Linked DNA regions of Homo sapiens: regions 1, 2, 3 and 5 are each linked to region 4. The links are contacts of gene promoters, found by promoter capture Hi-C in human tissues and cell types (Jung and others, 2019). All regions are on one chromosome and are shown on one strand. The core of a region is centred on a gene start or on the middle of the fragment in contact, and the rest is flanking DNA. Distances in the headings are between cores, read along the strand shown.

Region 1 (2,983 bases), core at 444-2,943, 46 kb after region 4:
CACCTTCCTCCATTAGGCAAAAACACGTTACCTGGAATAAACTTTTCACCTACTTTAAAACCCTTGACTTTTCAAGAGCATGCCTGCCCTTAGGAAATTGTGGTAGAGGTTAAAAGCGGGCAGGCTAGTACAAGCCATCCTAAACCACGCTATTCCTTGTCTGTAAATGATCAAAATCAAGACTCCACGGTGAGTGGAAACCTTGACACTACTAACATTTTTCTGCTGTGGGAGGCTGGCTTGTTCATTTTAAGAGGTTTAGCAGCATCTCTGACATCCACCTGTTAGAGTCCAGTAACATTCCCTAGTTGAGACAACCAAAAATATCTTCAGACATTGCCAAACGTCCCCTGGGGGACAAAATCATCCCTGGTTGAGAACCACTGCTTTATTTTAATGTTTAACAGAAAAAAAAATTTTCTTTTGAGACTGGGTCTCTCACTCTTGCCTAGGCTAGAATTAAGTGGCATGATCTTGGCTCACTGCAACCTCAACTTCCTGGGCTCAAGATACACTTCCACCTAGCCACCCAAGTAGCTGGGACTACAGGCACACACCACCATGCCCAGCTAATTTTTAAACTTTTTGTAGAGACATAGTCTCACTATGTTACCCAGGTTGGTCTCAGAACTCCGGGCCTCAAGCAATCCCCCTGCCTTGGCCTCCCAAAGTGCTGGCACTACAGGTGAGAGCCACTGTGCCTTGCCGAGAACCACTGCTTTAAAGAATTATTTGGTTTTGCAGAGCTACCATTATTCTGTTCTGCATACCCAAAACTGACAGCCTCTGACTTTACTTCTCTAGTTCACTGAAATAAAATTTACATGTTGTTTAGCTTTGTACCTTCTTACAGTAATTGAAACATCCAGTATTAGGGAACTGTGAAATACTGTTTGAGCAACAAAAGGCCTTATGGGGCAACTCTGACTTCTTCCTATGACTTCTATGTGCTTGGTGGACATCCTAGTTTGGCCAAGACCCAAGCTTGTTTCCTTTTAAATGGACTGATCCATCTTCAGAGGAGACGCATCTGCTGTAGGAGGACAAAATTTCTTTACTTTGGGATTTAACTCCAAGTCACAATGGGTCCCCAAACCACCGCAAGTTGTACAAACTAGAGACCACATTCTGGCTGAAAGGTCTGAACACAACACAAGTTAGGCAGCAAGAAGTCATGTGTTTTCTGGTATCTTATCATTTTTGCAGGTCAGGCTAGAAGACTGTGCCCTTCTCTTAAAGAGGATAAAGTGTGCTACTATCCCAAACCAAATTAAAGAGAAAGCACAAACCTGCTGACTAAGAAGAGTTATTACACCCTTGCTAAGTTTGTTTAAACAAGTCACTCAGTTGACTAGGAAAAAACTTCTGAAAAATAGGAGAAATGGTATTTTATCTTTGAAAGTCCTTTTAATAAATGAGATTATAAAGCAGTTTTCAAATACACAAAGTGCTTCAAAATGATTCAATAAGCCTTAAGCAATACATTTTTTAGTATATCACTTTTGTTGTTGTTAAAAATACCCCATTCAATGGATGGAAGTATATTTGATATCACCACTGTTTAAAGGGAATGGAGTTACAGGAATGAGAAGTATATAATTAGTAAATAATCCCTCTCAACAAGTGACTTAAGTAGTCACTCATAGAGAGCAAAAAAAGCTGGAGGCAACACAATCAGTGCATATCAGAAATGCATTTTAATTTTTATTTGAAAACAACTTAAATTTTTAGACAAATGATTTTAGTATATAAATTTGCTTTTGTTTTTATACAGAATATAAAGATTTCCCTCATTAATCTTCCATGTGAAGGGTATTACAAGCCTGGAGGAAGATACTTTCTGCACACAAGTATGTATCTTATGTGTGCAGTATTGGAAACCAATGGTGTAGTGCTCCTACACATAAATGGGGTCAAGTGACATCACAAATTAAAAGGGGGAAAGAGAAATATTCTAGTTAATCAGATGCAAGAAGCAAACAAGACGCAAAAACTGTGCAAATAAGACCAAGCCAGTAACTTTAGTTACGACACTGCAGATTACACTGGAATAACAGGTTTGTGAGGCTATAGTGTGCACCACATTAAAACAGCAAGAAAGAGCTATTTATATAGAAAGGCTGGAATGAGGGATTTTTACTAAAGCAAATTAACTTCTTGTCAACTGCCAAAACAAAACAAAACTGAGCATATGAGTGTTAGTATACTGAAGGCATGTTATACCAGTTTCTGTGCAGCATGCTAAAAGTTAGAACTTCTTCACTGGTGCTTATCAATCATTAATAGTCACGTTTTTGCCCCTTCTTGCCAAATTTCAGGCATGTCTTATTTTAGATGGAGTATAGCTTTTATCTATTATTTCATCTTGTAAAAACATGTGAAGACAACGTTCGTTCTGTGCCAGAGGATGACCAGCGACCCTGAGAATAAAAAATATAAATTTAGTCCAATATTTTATACAAGGTGGGGGAGTTCAAAACACATATTTTAAAGTTGAGAAGCATGTATAATTTTTTTTTTTTTGAGATGGAGTCTTGCTCTGTTGCACAGGCTGGAGTGCAGTGGCTGATCTTGGCTCATGGCAACCTCCGTCTCCTGGGTTCAAGTGATTTCGTGCCTCAGCCCCCTGAGTAGCTGGGACTACAGGCGTGTGCCATCATGCCCAGCTAATTTTTATATTTTTACTAGAGACGGGGTTTCACCATGTTGGCCAGGCTAGTCTCAAATCCCTGACCTCAAGTGATCTGCTCACCTCAGCCTCCCAAAGTGCTGGGATTACAGGCGTGAGCCACTGCGCCCGGCTCAGAATCATGTACAGTTTACCAATAAGTATTATTCTGGACTGTCCATAAAGCTATGCACTATCAACTAATGGTATATGTTCTTTTGTTTGGTTCACAACTCTAATTAAGAAAACATTAATCACAAATTTTTCACTGCTTGTGGCACATGTACCCAATTAGCTTTACATCATAGCTGGTGT
Region 2 (2,841 bases), core at 259-2,758, 62 kb after region 4:
TGGTCTCAATTTTTTCCTAAGTGTATTAACTTCTCTATGTTGTATACCTTACAGCTCAGAATTTTCAACAGATGCTATTGGGCATAACAGTGTATAGGTTTCAAGCATGAAACCAAATCTCACAAGAGATTTAAAAGCACTTGAATTTTCTTTCCCAGGTAACCACAACATTTGTTCATTGTATAAATGACTAAGGAAAAAATTGCACCTAACAAGACTCTTATTATACTAAAAGTCAAGCTTATATTTAAAGATGCTGGCTTGTTGTACAGAGGGTATTCTCATTCCCCACAGGGAATAAAATTAGGTCCCCTGGAGAGTAGAATAATTCCCAGAAAGAAAGCACTGGATTATTTCTCTCTAATTTCACCTATTGGCTTTTTAACCAAGTTCACCCTTCCGCATTAAAATATTAAGTCTTTGTAAATGCCTTAAAGATAAAAAGGCCTTTACAGAGTTGAGTGTTTTCTGCAGGTGAGATTTTACATTCTGAATTCCCTCCTCTCAAATTACTTTACAAAGGGGATTAACTGCTCTCTTTATTCAAATACGTTAAGATCAAGCTTGCGAAAAGAGTCCCCTAAGAATTTTCATACTTCTGGGTACGGAAGTCTATAAAGTTAATCTCTGAAACAACATATCAAGCTTACAGGTACAATGTTGAGAGAAGAGTGCCAATTCAGCTCATTTTACCTTCCATTTTCCCTTTTGAACTTTTGACACAATCATGATTATATCTGATTCACTCTAACAGAAAGGGGAGGGGTGAGGGGGAAAAGTACTTTCCCTTCTATGATTAGCTAATAGTTTGATAGTTTATATACTTAAATTTAGAGGACCATGATTAGCTTAAGAAAGTTCCTTTAGTTTTCTTAACTGGTTATGATTTCTCTTTTTGCATGAGGACTGCTTTAGAGTTTAAAGTCACATCAAGAAATTCAAACATCACTTGCCCATTACATATGCAGTGGTTAACTTAGCCTGTTAAACGTCTTCCTCATCATTACAAGGATTTGTAATTCAATGTAACTGATTAAAATAACTAAGTGCAAAATGTGGGTTTTTTTTTTTTGTTGTTGTTGTTGTTTAAGGTACTGAACTATCACTGCTGAAACTCCTGTGATTGGTCACTTTCAATTTATTTAACTTTCATAAAATGATTGAAGGGCGGAGAGGTTTTTTACCTACAGCTTCAGGAGGACTAAACTATTATTTACTGATCATCTATAAAAGGGCACCATGCTAGATAAGGGAGAATCATTATTTATAATGATGAATAAGATGCAGACCTGGCCCTTATGAAACATACACCAATCAAGGTTAGAAAATAAGCATATAAAAAGTTGAATTTCCATGGTTAAAAATACTACAAACTGGCTGGGCATGATGGCTCAAGCCTGTAATCCCTGTACTTTGGAAGGCTGAGGTGGGAGGATCACAGGAGTTTGAGACCAGGCTGGGCAACATGGTGAGACCCCCATCTCTACAAAAAATAAAAAATTAGCTGGGCAGGCTGGGCGTGGTGGCTCATGCCTGTAATCCCAGCACTTTGGGAGGCCAAGGCGGGTGGATCATCTGAGGTCAGGAGTTCGCGACCAGCCTGGACAACATGGTGAAACCCTGTCTCTACTAAAAACACAAAAATTAGCCAGGCATGGTGGCGGGTACCTGTAATCCCAGCTACTCGGGATGCTGAGGCAGAACTGCTTGAACCCGGGAAGCGGAGACTGCAGTGAACCAAGATTGCGCCACTGCACTCCAGCCTGGGCAACAAGAGCGAAACTCTGTTTAAAAAAAAAAAAATTAGCTGGGTATGGTGGCACATGCCTGTAGTGGGAAGATAAGGTGTCAGGATGGCTTCAGCCTTCGAGGCTGAGGCTGCATGAGCTGTGATCACATCACTCACTGTATTTCAGCCTGGGTGACAGAGGGAGACGGTCTCAAAAAAAAGGGGGGCATTTTGGTGAATACATTATCCATTACTCTATTAAATACACATAACTTTTGAATGAACAATTTCAATGGGAATTAATCCTACAAATATTTCCACACATACAAAAATATTTTAGCATTGTAATAGACACAAAAAAAAACCCCAAAAAAGACCAGAAACAATAAATCTTACATTACAAGCTTATATTACACAGCTTTTTACAAAATATAACTCAGCCATAGGTTAATCAGAAAAGCTGTCTAGAATGTATGACATGTAAAAAGTTTCAGGCTGGGTGCGGTGGCTTATGCCTATAATCCCAGCACTTTGGGAGGCTGAGGCGGGTGGATCACTTGAGGTCAGGAGTTCAAGACCAGCCTGGCCAATACAGTGAAACCCCATCTCTACTAAAAATACAAACATTAGCCGGGTGAGGTGGCACGAGCCTGTAATTCCTGCTACTCCGGAGGCTATGGCAGGATAATCGCTTGAACCCGGGAGGCGGAGGTTGCAGTGAGGTGAGATCATGCCACTGCACTCCAGCCTGGGCGACAGAGCGAGACTCCACCTCAAAAAAAAAAAAAAAAAAAAAGTTTCAGAACAGTATATTATATAGCATAATACCATTTGTATAATATGAAAAGCACGGAAGAATTGACAATTGATTTGGCCCGGATTCATTCATTCTTTCCCCTCCTTTTCTTTCCTTTCCTCAGTCTCTCTGCTTCCCCTCCCTCTCCCCCTCCCTCCCTCCCCTTCCTTCCTTTAGAGACAGGGTCTCCCTAAGTTGCTCAGGCTGGTCTTGAACTCCTGGGCTCAAGGGATCCTTCCACCTCAGCCTCCCAAAGTGCTGGAATATGAGGTGTGAGCCACTGCGTACGGCCAGTCAGGACTCTTTTTCGTTTTGT
Region 3 (2,882 bases), core at 50-2,549, 40 kb before region 4:
GGGGTCACTCATTTTCATAGTAAACTTTGGTGATTGGGGTGCAGAGAGGTGGAGGGGGGAGTTGATAAGTAGATGGGGGAGTACAAACAAGGTCTGGAGGAATTTCTCAGGGGTGGGGGGAAAACAGTAGCTGTAGAAGAAAGGACTGAGAGCCTCAGAGATCTCTGGCCAATCCCTGGAGAAGTGGATCCCAACATGGCCTGCAGACTAAACCGTGGGCCCTGTGAGAGCTAAGCCACACTCGTGTGTTGCCACCGGATGAAAGGTGGAGGAGGCAGAAACCTAAACAAGTGAATTCAATTACATCTGAAAAAGATTAGGCTAAATTAGGATTCATTCCTTGGGCCAGTTCCAGGAAATATTTGTGAAAAGTTGGTTGAAAGAATACTACCATCTAAACCCTAATTTTGCTATTACGTAAAAGCCCCGATTCCTTTGCAGTAAAACATTAGAAAATGTTTTCCTCATTTTGTTTTTGCTACTGGTGTGTGACCTCTTAATTTAATTTTGGTTTTTGCTCATATAAATCAATGGCCGTGGAAACTTTTTCCTGTGGTGCAGCAAAGACAGGGGAAAAGTAGAACATCAGTAATTATATTTTAGGCACTTAATTTATTTAATGAGCAGTTATCAAGCACCCTTAATGGTTCCAGCCATAAACTATAGGATATCATCCTTTACGTTAGAGGATATCAGCCTGCTTCAGAGAACCTTCATGTGTGTCTCCGAGATGCAGAAAGAAGGAGCGTGTTCTTAGGTGAGACATTAGTGGACTGAGGTTAGAATTCATCAGCCTGATGCCCTGATAATTTCCTGCTGCCTTCTGCCTCTGCTGTGCCCGCAGTTGGAGCCCAATCAGTGATGCCACTGCCCAATTTGCCCAAATAGCCAGCCAGTGGGAATAAAGACCCAAACATCTCATATTTTTAAAATTAATTTTTTACCTTTCTGTCACCTGCCTGAACTGGTAAAGAAAATGTTTCTCAGGTTTCTTCAATTCCTCTTCTCAAGGAGAGCTGTTAACCCTTTGAGGGAACTCACATATCTATGGGATATGTTATACATTTGGAATGTTTTACACTTGGGAACAAAAACTAAATTAGGCAGATAGCTCAGATTTAGAATACAGTACATGCATTTTTTGGTCATGTGCCATTTCATGGTGGATGGAATTCATGGCTGCAGCTTACAGTTATATAGGTTCCACACTGCACTGTGCTGGAGGGAAACATTCACACAGACTATGGGTGGACAGAATTGTGTCTTCTGCTCATGGGGGTAGGAGGTGAGGACGGAGGGGTCACTCCCATCCTTTATTTCAGCAACTTAAGAAAACTGTGATAGATGTTGAAAGTAGTGTACTTATTTGGGATGAAATAACAACTTTTTTTTTTTTTTGAGATGGAGTTTCATTCTTGTTGCCCAGGTTGGACTGCAATGGTACCATATTGGCTCACTACAACCTCTTCCTCCTGGGTTCAACTCAGCCTCCCAAGTAGCTGGGATTGCAGGCACCTGCCATCACGCCTGGCTAATTTTTTGTATTTTTGTTAGGGGCAGGGTTTCACTATGTTGGCCAGGCTGGTCTCAAACTCCTAACCTCAAGTGACCCACCTGCCTTGGCCTCCCAAAGTGCTGGGATTACAGACATGAGCTACCGCACCCTGCCTGAAATAACAATTTTAAAGTTCTAGACTCAGGTAACTTGAGTTCAAACTGCCTCTGCCATATTGCTTAACCTCTCCATTTCTTATCTATAAAATGACAGATAGATAACATTAAATAATAAGAGTAACCACTCATAGGTTTATGAGGATTAAATGAGTTGATATATGTAAAGATCTTAGAATAGTGTCTGGCACATAGTAATTGCTCAGTTAATATTAGCTATTGTTATCATTATTCTTTGATGTGTTGGAAAAGCATTTCCCTCCTATTGTGGGAAGAAATAGGAAAACAAAGTTCCCACTGTTCTGTTTGACTATAGGCCCTGCATGGCTAGGCAGGAAGAGGAAAGGCACTCAAGTAGGACAGAACTGGGTTTATTTCTGTTGTAACCACCTATTGTGATCTTGGCCACATCCTCTACAAGCTGCAATTTCTTCAAATGCAGATTGAGAATAGTAATAGTATCTACCTTGCAAAGTTGTTATGAGAATTAACGACAAAATATGGAAAGTGCCCAACACAGTGCCTGACCCTTCATAGGCTCTCAAAAATATTTGTTACTGTCAGATTGAAGTTAAACCAAGACATGGCATTTGGATACTGTTAGAAAAAAAAAAAAAAAAAAAGCAGGATCACTGAGAATATTCTAGCCTCAGTGACAAAAGAAGAAAAAACAAGCTTTCCAACTCCCAGCCAGGAACAGTGATCTGAAAATCTTGATGTGGGGTTTGTGTTCAGTCCCCAGCCCTTTTTTGGACTGCCAGACCCTCGTGTTTGTCCTGCTTTCCCCACTTCTTTCTAGTCCTGGTCAGAAGTGATGTTGGAAGGGACTGAGAAAACCCATGAGGGAGAGGTGAAGCATCTCCCCAGTGCCTTTTTAATGTATGAGGGTGCTTCAATTACCAGATTGTCAGCTCCATGAGGGCAGGGACCATGTTTGTTCCTGTTCAACAACATACTCCTTGGTAAATATTTGTTGAATAAGTTAAAAAAGTAGAATACATTATTAATGACTGTATTGTATAGTAGCAGCTTGACTGTATTGTATAGTAGCAGCTCAGTTAAACCTGAACTCAATGAACTGAACGCTCAATTTACTTTTTTTTTTTCTACATCTCACTTTGTGAAAGAAAGTGCTAACAGGACAAGCTCATATGAGGAATTTAGTATCAAGAAAACTAATCACAGTTTTTCAAAGTATGATCTGGGATTTG
Region 4 (2,700 bases), core at 131-2,630:
GGGAATAAACTGAGAGATAAAGATCCCCCCATCTTGCTCTTTCCCCGGGACCCCAGCCTTGGTCGCGGCGCCCCACTAAGGAGGACACAGGCTCTGGTGTGTGTGGTGTGCGAGACCCCGAGCTCGAGGCCGAGCCAAGGCTGGGCAGAAAGTTGCAATCACGTGCTGTCGGAGCCCACTGGAGCGCACAGCCCGCTCCCCCTGGGACGCCCAGGCGGAGGACCTGCTGCGCCCTCCCAGGGCTCGGGGGACTCCAGCATTCACTTGCACGCACAGGCGAACTCTGATTGAAAGCCCGGGATGACACCGAGTCTGGAGAAAGAGGGACCGGGGGGTGGGCTGGCGGAATTGCAGAGCGCCGGCCACAGCTCCCCTCCCCGCGAACGTCGAGCGGAGGGCGGGAGGTGTAACCTCTGACCTCTGGCCGGGTCCACGCCCTGAGGAGGGACTGGCAAGCTCTTGTTCGACAAGTTCAAGCTGCCGAGAGAGCTTAAATAGAATTAATCTCTTAGAGATCGGGGATCATCGCTCCCTCGGCATGCGCTCTCCCAGCGCCGCGCACAGAGCAAGGCGCGAGAGAGCTCAGGAATCGCGGGAAGGCAAGCGGAATGGGGAGGGGGTAGGGGATGAGGGCCTCTCTTCACTATTCCTCCGCCCGGAGAGCGGGAGCCCGCAACGCCCGCCGAGGACGAGCGGCGGGAGGGAACGCTCTGCCCTCCAGCCGCCCCGGTGCAGATAATGGAGGCGACAAGAGATTCGCTCAGCGTCGGATGGGCCAGCTCTGCTTGGGGAAGCTGGCGGCATCCTCCCCTCGGCTGGTGCCCAAACCCACTGCGCGAAGGCCGAAGGAACGCGGAACCTCCAGAAGACCCCATCCTCAGCCCTGACTTTCCGTAGATATGTGCAAAATGAGTAAATTACTCACCTCGGGCCAGATCCAAGTTTTACCCAACAGAAGGGGCACCGGACCAAGAATGAACCAACTCACATGGCCATGTCCGGCGCGCACAATCACACGCCAGCACACAGCCACCCAATTTCTTCCGCGAATCTATCTGGCACTCTGGAGAGAGGGGGAAAAGCGTTTTGAGAAAGCCCCGTCACCCCTCCCCTTCCTTCTTGCCGTGAAATATACGAATTCATTTTTATTACGAGCCGCACCGTCCTCACCATCACGCACGCACAGAGCCACACTCCCATATTCACACTTTCTAACTCGTAAGCTCCGACAGCGCCTGCATTTTCTTTGGGAGCCGCTTGGAGGTTCATTAATATCATTAGCATTTAACCCCCTCCCTCTTCCCATCCCCTCCCCGCACATGGCTGACGTCAGACCCCGCCAGGAGTTGGGGGAAAAGCTAAGTGGGCCAGGGACGCCCTATTCCCCTCCCCGCGGCTGCCTGTCAGAGCGCTTCTGGAGATATTACAGGGGACCCAGCCCGCAGCGACAGGCACAAAGTCACGGGGTAATGAACTTCGGGGACCCTTCGCCGCTGCGTGCGCGGCTCTCCCCGGAAACCCGGACCTGGCCGCCTCTTCCCTCGGAAGATTTCCCAGCAATCTAGTTTTCCCACTCTGCGCTTGGGTTCCGGCAGCGCGGAGCCCGTCTGCCTCTGAGACTGCGGTAGTGTTTTCCTTCTTTCCTTGGGAGACCAGCGGTCGGCAGAGATTGCCCACACTCTGCATGCCTATGTAGAGGGAGAGATCGAAGACTGAGTGACAGGAATGGGGAAAAAGAGGGATTTCGCTCCGTAGGAAGGCCATTTTCGTGTCTCCATCTCTGTCTTTCAACATCCCTCTCTTGCTGTTCTTCCTTCTTCCTCAGTCTTCCTGTCCATCTCTCCATCTGTCTGTCCATGTGTGTGTCCATATCAAGCAGCATTCCCAGCAGCTGCGGTTTTGCAAGAGCCGGGAAGAAACTTAAGGATGCTTAAATTTCCACTGTTGGACGAATTCTGAGCGCCCAGGGAGCAGCGCAGCGCGCGACTGACACCCACCTGTCCCGCCCAGGAGCCTTGCAGGCTGGAGGGCAGCTGGAGAGCGGCGGCGCCCGGCGGCGAGGCGGGCGCTGCCGGCCGGGACTCGGGCAGCGCCCACCAACCGCTCCGCCCCGGGACAGCCAGCATGAGCAAGCCAGCCGGATCAACAAGTGGGTACCTCTCGGGCCGCCGTGGGGCCTAGGCGCGCAGCCTGGGGCGAGCGAGCGGGGAGGCTGGGGGAGGTCCTGCCTGGAGCGCTGCGAATCTGAGCCCCTGAGAGGGATTCCAGCGGGCGTGTGCGTTCGGCCCAGACCTGTAGACCGTGAGTTGGAGCATTTCGTGGAGAGGGGAGAGCCGTTTCGTTGCCTCTGGATTGCTTGATCCCCCCTGTCTGGTGCGGTGAGAAGGTTACGACCCGCGCAGCCCACCAGTCGGATGAGTTGTCTCCATTTAGCCGCCAGGTGCTGGATGGGGGGGCCATGGGGGCGGGAACTGGGCCGCAGCTCCAGGCGGTAGCACAATAACACACTCGCTCAAAACTCCGAGCTCCAGCGCGCAAAAGCAACTCTGTGCAAAGCGGATTTTGAATGGAATGCTTTGCACCCCGTTTCTAGCTATTTCAAATAATCCTGCAAACTGGGAAGCAGAAACAATTTAAAAGTCACATTTTCCTTAATCCTAAATCCGCGTAGGTCATAACTGGGGAATTTAAAGTATGGCG
Region 5 (2,970 bases), core at 167-2,666, 64 kb before region 4:
CCTCCCAAATTCATATATTGAAGTCCTAACCCCCAGTACCTCAGAATGTAACCTTATTTGGAGATAGCCTTTAAAGATGTAATCAAGTTAAAATGAAGTCAATTAGAGTGGGCTCTAATCCAATGTGACTGGTGTCTTTATAAAATGGTGATAGTTGGATTCAGGGATAGATAGAGGAAAGACAAGGTAAGGAGACACAGGAGAGAAGGTGGCCATGCACAAGCCAAGGAGACAAGCCTGGAACAGATACTTCCCTCACAGCCTGCAGAAGAAACCAGCCCTGCTGACACCTTGATCTCAGGCTTCTACCCCCAGAACTGTAAGACAACACATTTGCTGTGTAAACCCCCTGCAGTCTGTGCTACTTTGTTATGGCACCCTAGCACGCTAACACAAATACATTTTAGGCACTTTCTGGAAGAAGGATACAAGTGGAAGCCCAGTTCTCTTTGTTTGTACACTGGATTTCTGAATAAGATTTCTTTATATAAAGAGCTCCAAACTAATGTTTGAAAAACATTGTTGTTCAAAAATGATTTTGAAGTAATTAATTTTGAATTATTTCTAATGAACAGGTCCAATTGCTTCTTGAGGCCAGGGCATTCCCCACCCGCCCCCACACCCTTTTTTTTTTTTTTTTTTTTTAAAGAGACAGGGTCTTTGTTGCCCAGGCTGGAGTGCAGTAGCACTATCTAGCTCATTGCAGCCTTGAACTCCTGGCTTCAAGTGACCCTCCTACCTCAGCTTCCTGAGTAGCTGAGAAACTAGGACTACAGGCACGTGTCACCATGCCAGGCTAATTTTTTTTTTTTCTAATTTTGTTTCTTTGTAGAGATAGGGTTTGCTATGTTGCCCAGACTGATCTCAAACTCATAGCCTAAGTGATCCTCCCACCTTGGCCTCCCAAAGTGCTGAGATTAGTGGCGTGAGACATTGCACACAGCCTGAAGCCATTCCTTGATAGTAAATTTCTGTCATTGTCTCAACCTAGATGCTTCCAAAAAACAGAGCTTGAACTAAAGACTTGTGCTCAGGCAGTTTATTTAGGAGGTGATTCCAGGGAGTTTCAGGTGCTTCTCCAGTGCTATGCATTCATTATTCTCCTTTTGAATAAACCATTGCCATCTGTGATGTATTGTTTTTGCTCAATGTTTTTCTTCTTAGATATTAAACAGTTAGATTTCAAAACAGCATGTATCTAAAGAGTTAAAATTCCACACTAATAAAATTCTGAGAGGAAGCCAAACTAATTTGCAATATATACCATACATATGCTCAAAATTATTCTGGTCTATAAAGCAGATTGTATCAGTTAGGGTTCTCTGGAGAAACAGAACCAATCGGATATATACTGTATATATTAGATGATCTCTTTATGGAATAAATAAAGGCATTGCCTCACACAATTGTGGCAGCTGGCTAGTCTGAAATTTGTGGGGCAGGCCAGCAGGCCGGAAACTCAGGCAGGAGTTGATGTTGCAGTCTTGAGGCAGAATTTCTTCTCAAGAAACCTGTTTTTGCTCTTAAGTCCTTCACTGATTAGATGAGGACCCCCTACCTATTGAGAGTCATCTCTCTGATGTAAAGTCAACTGATTGTACATGTGAACCACATCTACAAAATACCTTCATGGCAATATCTAGATTACTGTTTGATTAAATACCTGGGTACTGCTATATCTTAGCCAAGTTAATACTTAAAGCTGGCCATCACGCTGGTCAAGAACTAAAAACCTAGAGGCATTCATCTCCTTCCTTGTGTCACTCTGGGAAAGTCCAAAAATCTTCTGGTTCAGTTTCTTGTAAGGGGTAGCCACAGTGACACCATCATTTTAACCCAACTAAGTAGCATCATAGAAGAAAAGAATAAGGAGATAGTGAAACAAGTGTATTCTTGTAGGGAAAAAATGCTACCTTAGATAGAAATAATGTTTGCGACTATGATAGAACAATTTCTTCCTGCATCATCCCTGAACAATCCCAATAATGTGTGAAAATACAGCCAAATAATCTTTAGGCCTACAGGTTATCAGCTCTTCAAATACTGGTCCATCCTCTTTGTTTACGAGCAAGAGACAAAGAGCAATTAAGCAATATGTAAGTGGCAGACCCAAAAATAGAACCCAGCTGTCCTCAGCCCTAGAATGCTGTTCATAACACCAAGCTACCTCTGTGGACAATAAAGATGAATATCAGTCGCTAGAGAATGGGTTTCTCTACTTAATGTTCATAATTCCATTTACCCATGAAATGACCATGTGAAGCTTATTTTGTAAAGTAGATATTAGAGAATATTAGAGAACATTTGCTAATTTTGTCAGGTGTGATAAGGCATTGAGGCTGTGTAGACAAATTGTTCTTAACTTTTAGGGATGTATACAGCATGTATTTTCTTCAAAATACTTTAGCAAAAAAAAAATTAAGCAAATGAGGCAAAATACTAACAATTGTTACACATAAGTGATTGATATATGGGTGTTTATCATATTATGTCCTTACTCTTTGTAATGTTTTAAATTTTTCATAATAAAAAGAAAAAAAGAAACAAGTTCACTTTCTCTCTGTTCGTAGGCTTGTAGGCAGCTAATGCCTACATATATCCAAATATATCCATTTTCATACATCCAACATGCACTTTCCTTGCATGGTCACTGAGTCAATAAACTTATACCACAGGCCTGTGCACACTCACTTTTCTAGACTAGGAAATTTTTTTTTTTTTTTTTTGAGACAGAGTTTCTCTCTTGTCACCCAGGCTGGAGTGCAATGGCGCGATCTCGGCTCACTGCAACCTCCGCCTCTTGGGTTCAAGCAATTCTCCTGCCTCAGCCTCCTGAGGAGCTGAGATTACAGGCACCCGCCACCACGACCAGCTAATTTTTGTATTTTTAGTAGAGACAGGGTTTCACCATGTTGGCCAGGCTGGTCTCGAACTCCTGACCTCAGGTGATCCATCTGCTTTGGCCTCCTA

What was found. Contacts are between HindIII fragments. The study calls those that stand out against the background at their distance.
Region 1: a contact is called between a fragment that was not itself captured here and the fragment with the promoter of NR2E1 in region 4, in 1 of the 25 tissues and cell types used here (H1 embryonic stem cells).
Region 2: a fragment that was not itself captured here is called in contact with the fragment with the promoter of NR2E1 in region 4 in 1 of the 25 tissues and cell types used here (pancreas).
Region 3: a fragment that was not itself captured here is called in contact with the fragment with the promoter of NR2E1 in region 4 in 4 of the 25 tissues and cell types used here (H1 embryonic stem cells, aorta, mesendoderm cells and 1 more).
Region 5: a fragment that was not itself captured here is called in contact with the fragment with the promoter of NR2E1 in region 4 in 1 of the 25 tissues and cell types used here (thymus).

The regions. Positions count from the first base shown.
Region 1 is chr6:108,209,835-108,212,817 of GRCh38, forward strand. It overlaps SNX3 (sorting nexin 3), which reads right to left. Exons shown (of 4, transcript NM_003795.6): 4 at 1,388-2,420. The coding sequence ends at 2,315. Among named protein-coding and RNA genes, the nearest start is that of NR2E1, 45 kb to the left of the region's middle. The HindIII fragment of the contact is 7,794 bases long and covers 1-2,983 here.
Region 2 is chr6:108,226,756-108,229,596 of GRCh38, forward strand. All of the region lies in intron 1 of SNX3 (sorting nexin 3), which reads right to left. Among named protein-coding and RNA genes, the nearest start is that of SNX3, 33 kb to the right of the region's middle. The HindIII fragment of the contact is 3,127 bases long and covers 1-2,841 here.
Region 3 is chr6:108,124,478-108,127,359 of GRCh38, forward strand. All of the region lies in intron 1 of OSTM1-AS1 (OSTM1 antisense RNA 1), which reads left to right. All of the region lies in intron 1 of LOC124901368 (a long non-coding RNA gene), which reads right to left. Among named protein-coding and RNA genes, the nearest start is that of OSTM1-AS1, 2.3 kb to the left of the region's middle. The HindIII fragment of the contact is 7,245 bases long and covers 1-2,882 here.
Region 4 is chr6:108,164,642-108,167,341 of GRCh38, forward strand. It overlaps NR2E1 (nuclear receptor subfamily 2 group E member 1), which reads left to right and starts at 1,381. Exons shown (of 9, transcript NM_003269.5): 1 at 1,381-2,149. The coding sequence starts at 2,125. RefSeq lists enhancers at 424-1,325, 2,226-2,700. The HindIII fragment of the contact is 11,535 bases long and covers 1-2,700 here.
Region 5 is chr6:108,101,054-108,104,023 of GRCh38, forward strand. No RefSeq gene overlaps it. Among named protein-coding and RNA genes, the nearest start is that of OSTM1-AS1, 21 kb to the right of the region's middle. The HindIII fragment of the contact is 3,481 bases long and covers 1-2,970 here.